Linked DNA regions of Homo sapiens: regions 2, 3, 4, 5, 6 and 7 are each linked to region 1. Evidence: promoter capture Hi-C in 16 types of primary human blood cells and fetal thymus (Javierre and others, 2016). All regions are on one chromosome and are shown on one strand. Each heading gives the region's core, a stretch centred on a gene start or on the middle of the fragment in contact. The rest is flanking DNA. Distances are from core to core; before and after follow the strand shown.

Region 1 (2,536 bases), core at 12-2,511:
ACTAGCTGTTGGCCACCTTAGACTTGAAGGTCCATTCACTGCTGCTTGCCCTTGAAGCTCAATTGCTGGTCAGAGCTTTACACTCCTGGGAAGCCAGTCCCCTACCTGGAGGCTGAGCCGGTGACACTGGTTCCACTGGGTCACAGCTGAAGCACCACTGGGGATGGGGCATTTATGTGGCCATGAGTCACACTAGGGTAGGGGTAGAGGGCAAGTCACAGGAAGATTGTTGGGTTTTTTTTTTTTTTTTTTTTTTTTGGCCAGTTTCTTTTCTTTCTTTTTTTATCCCTTTGAAACAGAAGACCATGGCGTACAATCTGGTATCTGCCTTCAGGGTTGGGATAATATCTTTGTTTTACAATACTCAGAGTGGCTGGAAGAAAGCTGAGGCCACAGGTCACTAGCAGGTTCTAAAGTCTGAAAATCCCTGGGAAAATTTGACTTTTTATATGCTAATAATTGAGTACTGACAACTCTGGAGGGAGCTTTCCAATTCTTCCGTCATGAAAGTGGACTTTGTATACTAAAGAGGGGTTCATGGATTCATGGTAACCTACAATTCTTCCTTGCGGCCTGAACCAAAGGAATAGCAGCTACAGTTGGGTTTTCCTAAAAGGAGTAAGATAGTCCCAGGCCTCCCTTCTCAAATAAGTGTATCAAGCAGGTGGACTCTGCCAGTCGGGGGTCCCGGTCAATCCCTAGGGCCCTGGGGCGCCATGGGCCTCGTGGGAGGGCTGCGCATCCCAACCATGCCTTCGTCTCCTGGTGGGGCACCGGCGGTACGTCCGATCCTCCAGCCCGCGTGGTCAGGCGGCCGCGGGCCCAAGCATTTCCCAGGGCCCAAGCATTTCATTCATTTATTCATTCACGCAGCAGGTATTTCCCGGGCGCCCTCCTCCTGTGTAGGTGACAGAAACTGGGTGGCGAGCGAGCCAGGCAAAGCCCGGCTTCCCTGAAGCTCCCCGCAGCGGCGGGGGCGGAGAAGAGACCTCAGCCCCGCGGGCTCGCACAGCTGGCGCGGACCACGCTCTCGCCCGGGGCCGGCGGCCTCAGCGCCCCCCGAATGAACACCTTCCGCCCGCTGGCCGCCCCGCGAGGCGGGCCGTGTCGTGGCCCCGGTGCACGGAGGGGGACGCCGAGGCCCGGAGCAGGGCCCGTCTCGGCCTGTGCTCGGAGCCAGGCGGCAGGGCCCGCGGGCCGGCGGGCGGCGCGGAGACGGCTGCGCTCCCGCCCTCCGCCAGCGCCTGGCGGCCGCCCCACGTGACGGGAAGCGGCGGCTGCGGGGTCGGGCCAGCCCAGGAGCCGCGGGCCGGAGCGGGGCGGCGGGGCCCCAGGCCGCGGGGCGGCGCGGGACGGCGGGCGCCGGCGCCGGTGAGTGAGGAGGGCGGCGGGGCGCGGGGTGCGGGGCTCAGGGCGCGGGGCGCGTGGGGCAGGAGGGCGGGGAGCAGGAGTGGGGGGTAGGCGGCGGGGCGGGGTGGAGGGCGAGCCCGTGCGTGTGCGCTGGGGCAGGTGTAGTGGGGGCTGGAACGCGGGGTGGGGGGAGCAAGTGGCTATACACTTGGGGGCAGGTGTGCGGGTGTGCGACTTGGTAGCTGTCCCTTGTGGGGGCCGGCTAGCCTGCTGGGGTGAGCAAATAAGTGTTCACGTGTGTGTGGGATGAAGTGTGCACGGGTGTGGGGTCAAGTGTGTATGTTGTGTGTGAGGAGTGCGTGTGTGTTTAGGGCAAGGGAAGACCTGAGAGACCTCGTCCTTGATTTGGGTTTTCCGGGGAGAAGGGCCAGGAAGGACTTGCACCTCCATCCCTGGTATGGAATGGTTTTGGCGCTGTGATTGAGGTTTCTGGGAGCTCTTTGGATTTGAGAGCTCAAATTCGGGTCACACTCAGGCCTGAATTGTCCTGATCTGGAGAGTAGGCAGGGGTGTGTTGGGGAGTAGGGAAAAGTGCTGTGCTGGGCTTCCTGGCCCCTGTTTTTAGCACCAGGTCAAGGGCTGGAAGCTGTCATCCCTGTGGAATTGTTTTCTTTCCATTGCCTTCTGGAGGTGCAGGTGCAAGTTAGTCCGCCTGCCTCCCTGTGTTAAGTGTTGATATCCTTAAACACGGAAGCTGTCCGGTTGTCTGCACCTGCCGTGGCTTCTACCCAAGGACTGTTGAGTGACCCTCAGGAAGCCTCCTACCTGGCTGCTAAAAATGGGGGCTCACAGATCACACAGCAGGCCTTACTGCACGTGGACTGCACGCGCAGCTGTGGTCAAAACATGTCTGAGCAGAGTTTAATCACTGATGAAGTGCTCATGGGCAAGCACCTTGTCTATCAGGAAGGAAGGCAGCTGCGGGTGTGATTGTGGTGGCAAGTTAAGGCACTGAGAAGGTGTGCAGGGAAGATCCTACTGCGTTGTGTGTGTTGGCTTGGTTGGAGTCAGGATGAACGAATGTAGAGGGACTGTGTGGTGGCTGCTACTCTCTCATGGTGGACATGCTTCTCTCTGTTGGTCAGCCGGAAGCTGGCAGACAACTGAGAGCTCGCAGTTCCATGGT
Region 2 (2,536 bases), core at 23-2,522, 880 kb before region 1:
TATGAAGGCATTTCCACATTGATGACAGGCATAAAGTTTCTCCTCCATGTAAGTTCTCTGGTGTTTATAAAGTTTACAGCTACTGCTGAAGGCTCTTATGCATTTATTACATTTCTAATGTAGGTTCTCCCAGGTTGTCCATAGTCAGAGAATTGACTGAAGGCTTTCCCACATATCTGACATTCATATGATTTTTCTCCCCTATAATTCTTATTTTTGGTGTGTGTGTAAATCAAGTGAGAGCTCTTGATACAGGAGATAGAAAGAAATTATTTAGGCAGATAGTGAGGGCAAAAGAGTCCTTGACAGAACTTCCCTTCTAACAAAAAGCAGCCCAAGAAATCATTCCTTTTTTAACAAAGAGAAGCCTGAAAGATTGAGCTGCAAGCATTGATAAGGAAGCTGGAAGCTTGCACTGGGGGAGGCCTATAGCTACACCCACAGAAAAGGGCTACCTGGGGCCAGGCATGTCCACCATGGGGCTCCACCTTCCCTTTTTTTGTTACCATGTATACAGTCCGAAAGAAATAAGCAACATGGAGTAGCTACCCACCTGCATAATAAAAGATTGGGGTGGGGGCTGCCAGAGATTCATGCCCTGTGCAAATGGCACAATTGGTCCTAACCAGATTTTCATGCCCTATGTAGATCAGACACCATCTTCCCATTAGCTCATCTATAAAAACCCCCTGCATTTCACCAGAGATTGGCAACCCATTTTCCTGGGACCCCTCTCTGTAGGAGAGAGCTATCCTCTTTCTTTCACCTATTACAGTTCTGCTCTAGACCTCACCCTTGTGTGTGTCCGGGTCCTTAATCTCCGTGGCCATGAGACCAAGAACCTCCCCCCAGACAACAAGGCCACTTCACTGTGATCTAAAATCCTGGTCACAGTTACTTTATTTCTTTAGTGCAAATTCTCTTATGTTTACTAACCAGAAATTTGACCACACTCTTCCACATAAATGACATTCATATCATTTCTCTCCAGTGTGAATTTGCTTGTGTTGACTGAGGGATAAAGGATAACTGATGGCTCTTCCACCGTCATTACACTTACAGGATTTCTCTGCAGTGTGAATTATGTGGTGTGAATAAAGCTGAATGCTCAGGTGGAATTCTTTCCCACATTTACTATATTTACAGAGTTTCTCTGTCATGCAAGTTCTTTGGTGTGAATAAAGGTTACACTTTGTCTGAGATGCCTCCCAAATTTATTGCATTTATAAGGTTTCTCTTCTGTGTGAGTTCCATGGTGTGAATAAATTTGGTGTTCTGACCAAAGTGTTTCTCACAGTAATTCCATTTAGATGGTTTATCTCCAGTGTGGATCTTCTTGTGTTGTCTAAGGCCAGAGTATGTACTAAAGACTTTTCTACATAGATGACATTCATATAATTTCTCTCCAGTGTGAGTGGGCTCCTGTTGTCTAATGTAAGATCAATGATTAAAGACTTTCCTGCATAGATGACATTTATAAGGTTTAACTCCAATGTGAGTTGATTTATGTCAACGAAAGGACTAGCAGTCACTGAGAATCTTTCCACATTGATTACAGGCATGGGGTTTTTCCATGTGGGCTATCACATGCTGAGTCAATGTGGAGCTGGGATGGAGATTTTCCCACACTCACTGTATTCAAGGGCTCCTCTCCAGTGTGAGTTCTCTGTTGTTGGGAAGGTGACAGGCTGCTGAAGGACTGATTACCCTCATACTTTCATTAATTTCTCTACAGATAGATTCTGGAATGATCATTTCGTGATAGTCTCCAGTCAAAATCACTTCCATATTGCTATATGCAAATGTATGTTAGTTACACACAGACTCTCTTGCTTGCACAGATATTTTCTCTTTTGTAGCATCTCAACGGTATAACTATCTGATGTATTTTCAAGGCTTCATTATTTTTCAAAGATGAGGTATCAGCCATGTCTATGCAATTGTCCTTTTATAAAGAATTCAGGTTATAATTTTGAGCTCAGGTTAATTTCTTTCCTAAATTCAAATATCCAAAACCATATGAAGGGACACACTCCCAGCTCTAATTAAAGCCATGTGACTGTGGTGTGTTCCTAACTCAGCCCATCCCCAGGTCTCTAATCTGGAGGAACAGGGTTCACCCCCATGAAGCTTATCATTGACAAGCAGGTAGAGGGACTCCTTCCTCCAGAGAAAGTGTATGGATACCATTTCTTGTTTTTAAAGGCCACCCTGCCTGCCTAAAATAATTGAAAAAATTAAATTGCTAGACTGGCATTAGGAGAATGAACACACTGAAAAGGATACAAGGCTCACGTGGGTAGGTTTCAAATACTGGCTCTCACATGGGAGAGACGTGAAATGGAGGAATACACCAGTGACTAGGAAGACATTTGGGGAAATTAAAAATTTTAAAGTATTTTCAAGAATGAAGAGAAAAAATAAAGATGTAATATTGGAGAGGTCATGAAAAGGAAAATCATCAAAGGGAAAGGACCAGGGCAAAGGTCACAATGTGAAAATTTACCTCTAAGAAGACATGAATATATGTGAATGA
Region 3 (2,536 bases), core at 20-2,519, 850 kb before region 1:
CCCACCCACCAGTGTAGATGCTGAAATGCAGCCCTCATTTTGGGCAGGAGAAGCAGCACCCAACTATCCTGCAGTGAGGCGTGAAGAGGGGAGATGTTCTCTCCATTTCATAGGTGGGGAAACTGAGGCATGGAGAATGAGCCCAGAGCACTGACAGCCCTCTGGGTTGGGGCACAGCTGTGGTGGCTGAGGATCATGCCCGTGGGTGCTGTGGTTTGGAGATGGTCCTCCTAGATCCCTCTCTCACCTTCTTTCCCTCTCTGCCCTTTTTGAACACAAAATGAAAAGGCTAGCTTAAAACCATTATTAAAATTTTTTAAGCTCCCATTTGAAAATTACAAAATACAGGAGAAATGAGAAAACAAGGTGCTCAATGTGGAAAAGCTAGAGAATGAAGTGCAAAGAAGAGAAAAATCCCAGACCTCATAATTTCTGCATATTAAATTGCCTTCCCATCCAGAAATAGCGCCTAGCTTTTCTTTACCAAACTTGTTCAAGCCACTGCCCGCGGGCTGCATGTGGCCCAGGACAAATTCATAAACTTTCTTAAAACATTATGAGTTTTGTTTTGCTTTTTTTGCTCTTCAGCTATTGTTAGCGTTATATGTGGCCCAAGACAATTATTTTTCCACTGTGGCCCAGGGATTCCAAAAGATTGGACACCCATACTTTAGATAGACCTTTCTTTTGGCCCTCAGCAAAGTTTTGTAATTTCTTTCTTTTGTGAAGTGTATTTCCATCAAATTTCTCTTTCGCATTCATTCTACATCAAGATCAAGTATCAAATATATTACTAACAAAACTTCTTAACAGTAAGCAATAAAATGAGCCCTGAAGTCATAATCCATCTTTTAAAAAAATTTCTCCTTTGCCTTTTGCATTAATCCTTAAGTTGTATACTTTGTTCCCATCTTCTTCTTAACTTTTAGAAAGTGCCCTACTTTCAGAAAGAAATAATAGAGCTTTACATGTTACGTTGGATCCCAGCGTTAGCACTCCTAGGTTTCTTAGATCATAGTAGTTCCTCCTAAAAGTCGTGGTGAGAAGTCTGAATTTACTTTTTCTTCTTAACTAGTATGGATTTTTAAAAAAATTTATTTATTTTTTTTGAGATGGAGTCTCACTCTGTAGCCCAAGCTGGAGTGCAGTGGCGCCAGATTGGCTCACTGCAACCTGCCCTCCTAAGCTCAAGTGATTCTGGTGCCTCAGTCTCCTGAGTAGGAGACTACAGGCGCACGCCACCATGCCCGGCTAGTTTTTTGTATTTTAGTTGAGACAGGGTTTCACCATGTTGCCCAGGGTCGTCTCGAACTCCTGAGCTCAGGTGATCTGCCCGTCTTGACCTCCCAAAGTGCTGGGATTACAGGTGTGAGCCACCACGCCCCGCTTGCCCCAGCTTTCTTTGCCTTAGGCATTCTAAAAATAGATTCATTAACGGTTATTCTCAAACCTAATCGGTGGTGCTCGCTGGAGCCTGCTGAGAAGGGAGCATGTGCCGGGAGCTGGGGCCTGTTAGCAGTTTTCAGAGAGAGATGAGGTTCCAGAGCCCCGCCCTGAGCCAGGGACGTGATTGGCAGCGGGGAAGAAGAGTACAGGGCTGCTGAGGGATGTGCCTGTAAGGATGAGGGCCCTGATGCTTAGCCTCACTGGTGACAGGTGTGGGAGGGATGAAACTCCAGTGACCTCTCCGCAGCCCACCCTGTGGGATGCCCCCATGAACTAGGAGGGATTCCCTCCCCTTGGTTTCCCTCTTTTTCTTTAATGTATCTGTTCGTTCCATCAGAAAACTAAGGAGATTCATTCATTTGGTAACCTTAGGGAAAGTATATTTCATTTTCCATTGTTATCGTTTGAGGTAAAATATTGTCACATATCCTTAGGTGGAGCCTACATCTCTTTAAGTAGAAAAAGGCAAAAGAAATAGCATGGTAACATTTTCTACCATGCCACACCAGGCATCATTGATATTTGCGAAGTTGGGAGGAGAGGAGGAAGGAGAGTCCACTTCTTTGTTGTCTGTAGTAATTTGCAGGATCAAAGTCCATTTTTGCTTTCTGGAGTTCAGAAGTGGTCTGGAATTTTTCTATTTCTTTCTCCCTATTCTCCCCAAATTTGATGGTATCCTCTGGTATTTCAGATGAAGAGATGTTTTGTGCTTGTTAAATGGTGACGCTGGACTAGAACCTCGAGTGAAATGTGTGAGTGCAACGTGTTTCCAAGTTTATTGGTGTCCTGCTTCCAATGACAGAAAGTACTTGATTTTCTCAGGTGGAGATGTGCAGATAGTGTATCTTATTTCCAGCTCTAAGAATTAGTCACATAATTGTTACTGAAATACTTATTGCAGAGCTTTCTCTCTGTAGTATTTTTGCAGCCAAATCCTAAGTTGAGGTGGAGAACCTGGGAAGGTACTTGGTGGTTAAGGGTGGTTTATAATTTGGATAGTGACATGCAAGGGTCATTGATATTTTACATATCTTTCTGGGGCTTAGTTTTAATTCATAATTTTAACAGTCAAACAGTCTGGAAGTATATG
Region 4 (2,536 bases), core at 26-2,525, 840 kb before region 1:
CTGCAGGGATAGATAGAAAAGAAAAACAGCTCAGAGCAGTGTGAGCCATGTGAGGTTTGCAAAATTTATCAGGCTGGAGAGTCATGAGCACGGAACTAAAGTCATGCCCTGCCATGCCCAGGGCCGGTTCTTTAAAGGTATTTTGTTTCTGCCCAGCTGCCTCAACCAATTATCTTTTTCCTGGGATTTTTGATACAAAAAACAATATATGGCCAATCAGTAGCTTATGTTATTTTAATGTAAATTCTTGATAACTTAGAAACTGCCTTTTCCTTTAAAAGCCCACTTGTCACTGCTGCTGATGGGAGCATATATTCAGGGCAACTTGAATTGATGTTCCTGGGTTGCAGTTCTCAAACTTGGCCTGAATAAACTCTACGATCCTGTTTTTACTTATTTTGTAGTAAGATTTAATTGTTTTGAAAACAAAGTATGCATTTTGTTGTCTTCGTAAGTTAATTTTCTTTGTAAAATTTAAAATATTGGTTAAAATTTAAGATTCCATCCATTGGAATCCCTGAAAGTTGTGGACTTAAACATTGACTTCCTTTTTTCTTTCTCTTACAGCTGTTTGGGGCAACTTCGTTAATATGAGGTAATTGTTTTTAATTACTTGGGTACTGTGGTTGGATTTTATAGACACATTTCAGTTGGTACATATATACCATGGATGTCATGGGTTAATTGAAAAATATTTTTAAAACAAAAGTGGGTTCTTGCTATTCACATATCTGAGCTGTTTCTTTTCTCCTATGGGTATTCTCAAGGAATGCAGCTGATTTTAACAATTACCAAGTAAGGCCCACAAGTAAAACAATGGTCGGCCACCCCCGCTTCCCTCCTTGTGTAGATAATAAAGGGTTGACCCTAGCTTATGTAAATTGTATTTCTGGGTGGATTGAGCAAGAACACTGAGGGGCTTTTGCAAAGCCTTCTGAGAAGGGAGCTGTCTTCGGGAAGCCATGGCAGGCCCATGACCTCAGGGGGCCAGCTAGTGGGTATCGATGCAGAGACCACCTATTTAGTCCAGCGTTAGGCCTGTATGCATCGTGTGTGCTTCTTCATAGGGCAGGAGGCACTCTTGTAAAAATAAAACTCGTGTTATCTCTTTACCAAATAAAAAAAAATAGCCTTTAAAAAAATCAGCAAAAAGAAATAAGCACTTATTGTAAAAACCATTTGGTACTGTTAATAGTTTTCCATGTAAAGGAAAATTTGCTCCACTTGGTTATGTTGTGAGAATCACTATTGTGATGATTAGGTTGGTATTGTAATGTAATGCGGCTGCACATGTCTACCAGGGTAAAAGGTTACTATGCCCTCAGGAGGCTTTTCATGTGGAGTTGGGTTTTGCAAGGTGGGTGGGATGGTGTCGATTTGATTCCTACCACCAGGGCATGTGTGTGTCTCCTGACAAAGGCTGCTGTGTATGACTAGGTGGGGTGCTCAGATCCCTTTTAAAGGAGCTCTGTGGTTTTACTTAAAAGACTCCATTTTTACATTAAATCCCCAGGAAAGCCCAGCAGGCACAAACACATACTCCTACAGACGCACTTCCTGCTTCAAATTTAAAATCCTGTGTTGGATGTAGCATAGCAGTGAGATTATTTTAGTTTAGTGGAAATAATCCATTAGGTAATACTGAGCATGTTCACAGATGGATTTAAGGGGAGTCCTTCCCTTTGGTTGTCTTCTTTTCCTCTGGTGCATCCCTTCTGGAGGGAATTGTACACATGACTGATACTTGAGCAGGAGACAGAGGTGGTCTGCATCCGTTGGGTTATGTTAGGGTAATTTATTCAGAAACAGTCTTAAAGTCACAAAGCCTTTCAGTTGATCTCAGTTTTATAGCTTTCTACTCAACAGGTCTATCCAGGAAAATGGTGAACTAAAAATTGAAAGCAAGATTGAAGAGGTTAGTCTTTTTTCTATTTTTGTATCTATTTCATCTGTATACTTGTCAATTTTACTTCCTTTGCTCGTGCTGTCATTCTTATTGTGGCAGCTTGATGCTGTTCTGTGATTTTGCAACCGTGTCTCAAAAAATTACTCCCTTATTTAAGAGGACATGCAGTCTGTTACTGTTGGTCCATTTTTGATGTATTAAAACAAATTCTACCTCAAAGGCAAAATGGATTTAGACTTTTACATGACTTTTCAGGTAAGCGTTTTTTAGAGAAAGGGAAGTGATTGCCTTTGGGAGATAGAGATGAGTACAAACATCCTCTCACTGGCACAGGTGCTGAAAAGAACAATGGCCACCAATCGGATGCTAGGCCACGTGCACAGATGGAGACGTTGCACACCCACCCAGCTGAAGGCTAGCACCTATGCTCAGTTATGCACCTCCTATTTAAATACATGTAGATACAGCCAGACCGTTGTAACATGGGCTGTGGGGGAGGGGATGGGAGGTTACTTACTTTGGATTTGAAGCCAACTTAGGGAGTCCTGGGAAGCCCTTGAGTTGCTGTCTTTCTGCCTGAGTCCACAGTGTCTACAGACGTGGATGTAGGTTGACTCACAGCCTGCAATT
Region 5 (2,536 bases), core at 24-2,523, 790 kb before region 1:
AAAGGGAATTTTAAACCACAGCAGCAGATACATAGACCTTTCTTTGCAGCACACTTCTGCATTGCTGCGGAGGCTGTGCTGACCCAGAGGGATCGGCTGAGCAGACAAGTGGCAGGATACCTGTCTGTTTACCTCCCTGCACCTGCTCAGGCCCACTGAGTCCCAAGTCAGACTTCAGGGGTAAGATAAACAAGATGGGAATTTATAACAATGCATCTTTTTGTCCAGATTTCGTGGCAAAGACTTATACATTTTATATCATAGTTGTACTCAAGTATGTATAAAATTCTTGGTGTACTAAATAAATTAGGTGTATATTCATATTCCAGAAATATACTTGTGTGAATAAAAGAATTTGTTACGTGTTTTCTTCCAATAGTCTCTTCCCCTGGTATGTCTTAAAGTGTGATTGATTTATACGCTAGAGAAACAGGAATTGGGAGTGTAAAATGAGGGCTAGAAGAACAGGCACCCATTTGCCAGGGGCACCCCGTCCCTCCACCTGCCCTACAGGAGCCTCCACGTTGACTTGTCACGGGTCCCAGATTTGTTCTGCTGATGGCACATGTCAAAGTCATCATGTTCCAGAGATGCTGCGTTTTTCATTTTTTTTCAATAAATACATGATTTGCTCCAGTTATCAACTTTATAAATATAAAACAAAACCACATATCTCTTCACATAGATTCTATTTAATTGTAATTTGTGTAGCACTCTGAAAGTTAAGAACAATTTACGGAAGAGAGGGAAGACTTAAAATTGGGAGACCTGATCTTTTTCTTTTTTTTTTTCCCCTGTAAGTAAAATATTGTCATTGCTTAATATCATATCCTACTGGAACTCAAGAGAATGGACTGGAAACCTGAGGTTGCCTCTTTAATACATCTCTCCATCTCTAAATGGGTCTTTCCGAAGTTCCCTTTTGCATCATAAATATGCATTATTGATATGAACTGGAAAAAGGAAAGATGAAAACAGTCTCACTTTTCTCCCATCGTAGATCCTGAAGTCCACCCTCAAAGTGAGGATTACTGGGGCCACGTGAATCCAATAGGACCTCGGGCCTGCTACGATGAAGGCAAACGTGTTGCAGAGACCATGTGCTATGCCTACATGAAGCAGGTATTTCACCAGGGTCTAGGCTTGCGGTTTAGGCGTGCTGAGCACCCTGACCTCAGATGTAAAGTGTTGTAAAGGAATGAATGCCATGACTGATTTTGTCTGGGGATAGGTGTTTGGGAAGCTCAGTTTCCCAGTATTATAAATTAATGGTATTATCAACAGCTTTTTCCATGTATCTCCTTATTTTAAAAATGATTTCCTAGAGATCAATTCTTGGGTTTGGAATACTATTTTATGGCTATGAACAGAATGCTTCTTCATTGCCAGTTGCTCACCAGCAGCTAAGAAGTACCTCTTTTCCTGAAGCCTCCAAATCAATGGATCTTCTTTTTTTACTTTTCTATCAATTAAGTAAAAAAATGGATGCGTTATTGCTGTAATTTGAACCTCTTTATTGTTATTGATATTTATTTACTGTTATTTCATGCTTTCTTCATTAGTCATTGTTGTGCTGATGATATTTTATGTGACAGATTTGGTCACCTGCATGTTATAGCAGAAATTGCTCACAGACCAAGAGGCCGAGGTTGCCACACTGGCTGTGCTGCTGTGTGACTCCAAGATTTAAGCCGTCATTCTCTCAGTTCTTATCTCTGACACAGGGTTTGTGAAGCCTGCCCTGCCCATCTCAGGGTGGTGCAGGAGCCAATGAACTGTGCAGAGAAGGTGGAGGCCTGGGCACAGGATATCCCATTCATGTTCTCACTGAGTGTGTCCTTGGGCTTGGGTCTGAATTTTCACATCCTCATGAAAATGCCCTCTGGTATAGTGGGACATGCAGGTAAATCAACATGGCTGTGGAACGTTGGTCCAGGACAGGCTGTTGGTAGATGCAGTGTCTGTTTCTGGGAGCAATGCTGTCAGGCCCAGGGCCCAGTCTGCAGGTGAGCCTGGGGAACTGTCGGCTATGTGCTCTGTAGGAGGGGCAAGTGTCATCAGCATGGCCAGCATCCAGGAGTTTTCCTGACTGTCTGTCTCAGGCCCCGGCAGAGCCCCAGTCAAGCATGTGCCAAGGGCCAGGTCTCCTGTTCCTGACCTTGGGATGAGAGTTTAATCGACTTCCCTTCCCGTGGTACCACAGAGGACAGGGCAATGTAAAGCCAGGTAGGCTCTCTGAGGGGTAGGAGAGAATGTCGAGGACTCTCTTTCTCATCATGTGTTTAATGAAATGCCAGCATTAAAGATGCATAAATTAACCTTATGCTATTGTTTATATTTAAACTTTTCTGCTTTATTTCTTGGCCAGAAGCAGAACTAATTGCCTTCTAAGCGACTTTAGTCTGTTGGCTTACATTATCCACTTCCTCTATGAAATGCCGATCAGTTTTAGTAGGAACATACTTTCATCATTTTGGGGCCCAGAATATCTTGACTCAAAAGTTTCAGATGATCTTCCAGACACACAGGACCACTC
Region 6 (2,536 bases), core at 20-2,519, 590 kb before region 1:
AGGAAAGAAGGAAAGAGTTTAAAGGAGCCGTGGGAGAATCAATCATTCTCTGCTTGCCCCTAATGAAGCCAGCTGCAGAGAGCACTGGTAAACACAGTCACTCACAGTTAATCTAGGTAGAGGAATTTAAAATACTACCTAGGCACAAATCTAAAGTGCTTCTGCTGTGAGAAGCCAATGTCAGATCACTGAGGTCTCCACTCACTCAACATCTGGATATTGAGGACCATGAGTGCTATTAGCGCCCTAAAGGCTGTGTTTAGGACACCATGTTTTACTAAAACTCTTATCTCTAAGCATCAAGATCCCACCCGGTGTGGCAAACATCTGAGACCCAGTAAGAGAAGAGTGGGCTTCCATTTCCTCCCTCACACTCACCTGGAGGCAAATTCCATGCCCGCAGCAGAGGAGCAGTGGAGTCACCTCCACTACAGGATTTCAATGTCATTTCTCTCATTCTCCTTCCTTCCCCAGCTCTCTCTGCCTGCATACTTGAATTTACATGGGCAGTGTCGAAGGAAAATAAAATCTTGGGATCCCAATTAACGATGCCAAAAGGAAAAAACTAAGCTGAAAGTGGAGTAATGCAAGACCTTTCCTTTTGTTCCTAAGCAGATAGCTACAGATAAAAAGTAGCTTCCCAGGTAGCTACTCTATGTTCATCTTATCCTTACATAAAGTGCCAATTTACTGAGCATGAGAGGAATATCTAATTGACTATTCCCCTACCTGCTCCTTTTCTCTTTTTTCCTTTTCTTTTTTTGAGACGGAGTCTCGCTCTGTCACTCAGGCTGGAGTGCAATGGCACAATCTCGGCTCATTGCAAACTCCACCTCCCAGGGTCAAGTGATTCTCTTGCCTCAGCCTCCAGAGTAGCTGGGATAACAGGCACCCACCACCATGCCTGGCCAATTTTTGTATTTTCAGTAGAGACAGGGTTTCACCATGTTGGCCAGGCTGGTCTTGAACTCCTGACCTCAAGCAATCCACCCGCCTAGGCTTCTTAAAGTGCTGGGATTACAGGCATGAGCCACCTTACCTGGCCCCTTTTCTCTTGCAACCCATGGATTCAATAACGTGACCATACCCTCCCTCTCTCCCCTCCAGCCCACTTTCCCCCTTTAAATATTGAAGCCCCCAAAATCATCTTTGGAAAAAGACATGGACCACAGACTGTTCCTGTGGCTTTGTGTTCCTTTTTCCTGGGCATGTCCTTATCCTCGGCAAAATAAACTTTTAAATTGTTTGAGACCTGTCTCAGGTACTTTTTGGTTTATAGTAGCAACATGTATGCATAATGCAAATGTACTTGTATTTCATTATACATTTATTTGTTCTTATTACACAGGTAAGCCATTTTTATTGTGAGAAGACTCAGAAGATTCAAATACATTTGAAGGGGAAAAACACTCTCATCTTCCTTATCTCCCAACCTTAGTTTATAGGTGCTTCTATGTCTTTAATTAACTGGCCTATTTCTAGATCTATCTGTTTTGGACATGAGATTTCTGCTAAGATGGGTGAGGATTTCATTTATTTACACCACATTTCACCTCCCCTTTCCCACCCTTTCAGTTTCTCACATCACTCTTTTCTTTCTCTATAGGTTACCTTGCTAACTCTAGGCAACTTACTTAGACTTTTAGCCACTGTTTATCAACTACGGAAAGGCTCTCTTGGGCTTTTCTTCAGCAGTCTTCCCCTTTTCACTGACTAACTTTTCATCTGTAGTTTCTCTTCTGCATTGTTAAGGTCAAGAACATTTCCAGATGCCAGCAGCCACTCCATCTGCTATGCTTCTTCCATTTTGTGAATCAGCATTCTCTCAAATCTGAAAATACTAGTTGCATTCATTTTCAAGTGAGTGTTTCTTGAATTAGCTCTGTTTCCTCAGTTGTCAGTTCTTCTATTTTTAGACTGTTTTCTTTAGGTTTTGATAATCATTGGTCGTTTGGTCACCTGCTTGTTGAATGCTACTTTTGTTTACCACAGCCTACCTCAAGTGACAGGTAGAATCTAGGTAACTTGTCAGTCTGGAGTCAGAAGCACCCACAAGCCACCACCCTGTGTTCCACACACAGTGCCTTGGGCACCTGTGGATAAACTAGACTAAGTAGTAGACACTGCTGGGGCTGGGGTTCTAAAATCAAGACTGTGCTGACAATATGGCCTGGACTCATCTTGAATGCAGGAGCTAGAAAGCAAGAAATGTAGCTCTGATGACAGGCAGGAAAGAACTTGACTGAGTAAAAGCAGATATAAACCACCAAAGAAGATGGGCCGCAGAAACCTGCTTGGGACCTATCTCAGGCAGACAGTATCACGTCTTCTTCCAGCTACAGTAGGGCTTCATGGCATCAGACCCTATGTCTGGAAGTAGTTATTCATTAAATATTTACTGACCATGTACATTATGACAGGTGCTGTGCTCCTCTCTGGGGTTACATACACAAATAGGACATGTCCTTCACACAAGAAGCTCATCATCTATGGGAGGAACACATACATTACAGCATGGTGTGGTAAATGCTACAAT
Region 7 (2,536 bases), core at 24-2,523, 560 kb before region 1:
CTGGTGTTCAACAAACGTGCAGACTTAAAAATTTCTAATTTTGACTACCTCTTCCATTATTCATTCCTTTAGGTAATTCTTACACCTCATCTCTTTGCAATTTGTGCTCGCGATAAGTGGGTACTTTTAGAAAAGAACAGTAGAGAGCACACTCTTTGATCCCATCTCTATGGCTTTGCCAGCTTGATCCATTGCCTCAAATACTTGCTGAAAAGCACCTTTGCAGTTTTATAAAACAGATGTCCTGATCAGATACGCCTCTCCCTCTCTCAAGATTTAATCATTGTTTTCTCATAGAAGGAAAAAAATGAATGCCGAGGACAGACTTTAATATCCTTTATTTCCTCCTCCATTCCTGAAAGCTTATGTATTAATGCGATTTTCTTCTAAGCACAATAGTCATGAGGAAACGGGAGGGAGGGGCCTTGCTCCAGGTACTTTTGGTTCTTTAAACCTTAAAACTTCTCCTTATCTTTCACTTTGGACTTTATGAAATGATGAGGGTAGAAATGCCCTTTGTGTGATTCACCAGGCCTTCCACACAGACCCTGGACTGATCTCCAGCCACGCTGAAGTCTCCAAGCATCAATAATCTACACATCTCCTTCTACCCCCAGAGAGAGGTCACCCTGTTGGTTTCTTATCACAAGTTGTATCATTCTTTTCTTTTGGTAAAGACATGTTTTTCCCCTTTTACTTCTTTACAGAAGGCACTCTTCTGTCCACAGAAGTGGTTCATTTACCTCCCAAAAGTGAGAACAAATGGGTTAGAGGCAAATCGTGATCCACTGATTAATAGTTTCTCTGTTTTTATCTCAGAAAAACTGCCTTTCAGTTTTACCATTCTATTTGGTCACCTGCCCTAGTTGTCTAAGGTAGCCTTCTTTTAATAAAAATTACTCCTGCCTATACTTATGCTGCTAGCTGTCAGTTGACCCTATGTTCTTTGTTTTTACATCAGATTATCTCTTCCTTGCCCCAAGTGTGAAGAGTCTCACCAGCTTTTCCTATTCTCCTATCAATGTTCACTCTATAAAATATTTACTCCACAGGCCTGAAGCCAATCCACACTGACATGTTCAAATATTCATCTCATTAACTTTGGAAGTAATCTTATTTACATAAATGAAAAGTCAATCATCAACTACAGAGCAGCTGTCCAAGTCCCATCTACCTAATCTAGGCAAACGGAGCGTTCCCTGTCCACTTTCCAGTTAGTATGCATGTGTGTGGTTAGCCCTCCCTATCCCCAAATGTATTTCCTAAAGTCACATGTAATACCTCACCATATAGACCTGTAGAATATTGTCCTTGTTATTCTTTGTCTTTCCATAGTGTCATACCTGATGTGACTGAGTGATACATTTAAGTCAGAATTTTACCATATTACACAACAGTATGCAAAAGGGCTTGAATCAAGTGCATACTCCACAACGTAGTGGTTCTCAAATTGGCGCATCAGAATTATTCAGGAGTTCATAGGTTCTCAGGATTTGGAACAAAAAAAGGACTCAGAGGGCTTCTTCAAACCAAGGTTGCAGAGCCCTACCCCAGAGATTCGAAGTCAGCAAGCTGGGGCAATCTGCATTCTAGCAAGTTTGCTGGTGATGCTGGATGTTGTCTGTTTTAAAGGTCAGCATTGAAGAGCCAGCCAGAGTGAGAAGGCAGAGTCTTCAAGGGCTCTGGCCCATTTGAGAATCAGAATCAGGTGATGAGCACTAAACTTCCAGATAACAGCCTGTACTGCATGATCTTGCAGGCCTTTCCATCTTCAAGAGTTAAATATGCTTAAAATTAGAACTATTACAAAAATCCAGGCTTAAAACTTCCATTTGGTACTGGGCAAAAAGCCTGGCAATTAAAAATAACTTGTTATCTTTGAAACTGGAAAGATGCCTACAGGCACTGCTCACAGCAACCTAAGGTTAAGTCATCTTAACATTAACTCATTTATGAAGAAACACCATGGATCACGGAGCCTAACCATGAAACCCTGGAAGCAGCTTTCACATTGCTCTGACAATCTACCTCCTCCTAATTCATCAGCAGAAACACAGCAAATACAGCACGTTTATTTTCAAACTCTAAACAGTAAAAAACAAACAAACAAAAACACAAAAAAGCCCCCCAAAAAACTCAACAGAAATATACTTCAAGAGATAAATCCCACTCAACAAAAGCTTCAGTTCTAAATGAAGTTCAGCTTTATGACAATATTTTTATAATTCATGGAAATGTAGTATTATGCAGAAATGGTTTTAATAACAGCTGCAAGAATATATAAAACCACTAAGAATGCATCATAGGGATCAAGGGTTTTCAAAGTGTGGTCCCAAAAGCAGCAGCATCACCACCAAGAAACGTGCTATTAATAGAAATGCAAATTCTTGGGCCCCAGACCTCCTGAATCAGTACCATTTCAGGTAGGACCCAGCAATTTGTTTTAACAAGCTTCAAGGCAATTCTGATACACACTACATACAGTTAGAGAATCATTATTTAGAGAAATGGAATGATGAAATTGCCTGAAAATAGA

Evidence for each region. Contacts are between HindIII fragments. The CHiCAGO score rates a contact against its expected background, and 5 or more counts as called.
Region 2: a fragment that was not itself captured here is called in contact with the fragment with the promoter of TGFBRAP1 in region 1 in 1 of 17 cell types (naive CD8 T cells); the score reaches 5.8 in naive CD8 T cells.
Region 3: a contact is called between a fragment that was not itself captured here and the fragment with the promoter of TGFBRAP1 in region 1, in 1 of 17 cell types (neutrophils). The highest score is 6.0, in neutrophils.
Region 4: a fragment that was not itself captured here is called in contact with the fragment with the promoter of TGFBRAP1 in region 1 in 4 of 17 cell types (naive CD8 T cells, total CD8 T cells, total B cells and 1 more); the score reaches 7.4 in naive CD8 T cells.
Region 5: a contact is called between a fragment that was not itself captured here and the fragment with the promoter of TGFBRAP1 in region 1, in 1 of 17 cell types (naive CD4 T cells). The highest score is 5.4, in naive CD4 T cells.
Region 6: a fragment that was not itself captured here is called in contact with the fragment with the promoter of TGFBRAP1 in region 1 in 1 of 17 cell types (neutrophils); the score reaches 5.2 in neutrophils.
Region 7: a contact is called between a fragment that was not itself captured here and the fragment with the promoter of TGFBRAP1 in region 1, in 1 of 17 cell types (neutrophils). The highest score is 5.3, in neutrophils.

The regions. Positions count from the first base shown.
Region 1 is chr2:105,328,460-105,330,995 of GRCh38, reverse strand. It overlaps TGFBRAP1 (transforming growth factor beta receptor associated protein 1), which reads left to right and starts at 1,261. Exons shown (of 12, transcript NM_004257.6): 1 at 1,261-1,371. RefSeq lists a silencer at 947-1,376. The HindIII fragment of the contact is 18,854 bases long and covers 1-2,536 here.
Region 2 is chr2:106,206,529-106,209,064 of GRCh38, reverse strand. No RefSeq gene overlaps it. Among named protein-coding and RNA genes, the nearest start is that of UXS1, 13 kb to the right of the region's middle. The HindIII fragment of the contact is 1,721 bases long and covers 412-2,132 here.
Region 3 is chr2:106,180,289-106,182,824 of GRCh38, reverse strand. The region is part of intron 1 of UXS1 (UDP-glucuronate decarboxylase 1); the gene reads left to right. Among named protein-coding and RNA genes, the nearest start is that of UXS1, 13 kb to the left of the region's middle. The HindIII fragment of the contact is 3,918 bases long and covers 1-2,536 here.
Region 4 is chr2:106,164,115-106,166,650 of GRCh38, reverse strand. It overlaps UXS1 (UDP-glucuronate decarboxylase 1), which reads left to right. Exons shown (of 15, transcript NM_001253875.2): 2 at 568-595; 3 at 1,852-1,915. Among named protein-coding and RNA genes, the nearest start is that of UXS1, 29 kb to the left of the region's middle. RefSeq lists an enhancer at 1,061-1,580. The HindIII fragment of the contact is 2,642 bases long and covers 1-2,536 here.
Region 5 is chr2:106,121,556-106,124,091 of GRCh38, reverse strand. It overlaps UXS1 (UDP-glucuronate decarboxylase 1), which reads left to right. Exons shown (of 15, transcript NM_001253875.2): 9 at 1,001-1,122. Among named protein-coding and RNA genes, the nearest start is that of ECRG4, 57 kb to the right of the region's middle. The HindIII fragment of the contact is 3,071 bases long and covers 1-2,536 here.
Region 6 is chr2:105,914,553-105,917,088 of GRCh38, reverse strand. No RefSeq gene overlaps it. Among named protein-coding and RNA genes, the nearest start is that of ECRG4, 150 kb to the left of the region's middle. RefSeq lists an enhancer at 1,765-2,014. The HindIII fragment of the contact is 6,170 bases long and covers 1-2,536 here.
Region 7 is chr2:105,885,484-105,888,019 of GRCh38, reverse strand. All of the region lies in intron 4 of NCK2 (NCK adaptor protein 2), which reads right to left. Among named protein-coding and RNA genes, the nearest start is that of NCK2, 140 kb to the right of the region's middle. The HindIII fragment of the contact is 1,818 bases long and covers 365-2,182 here.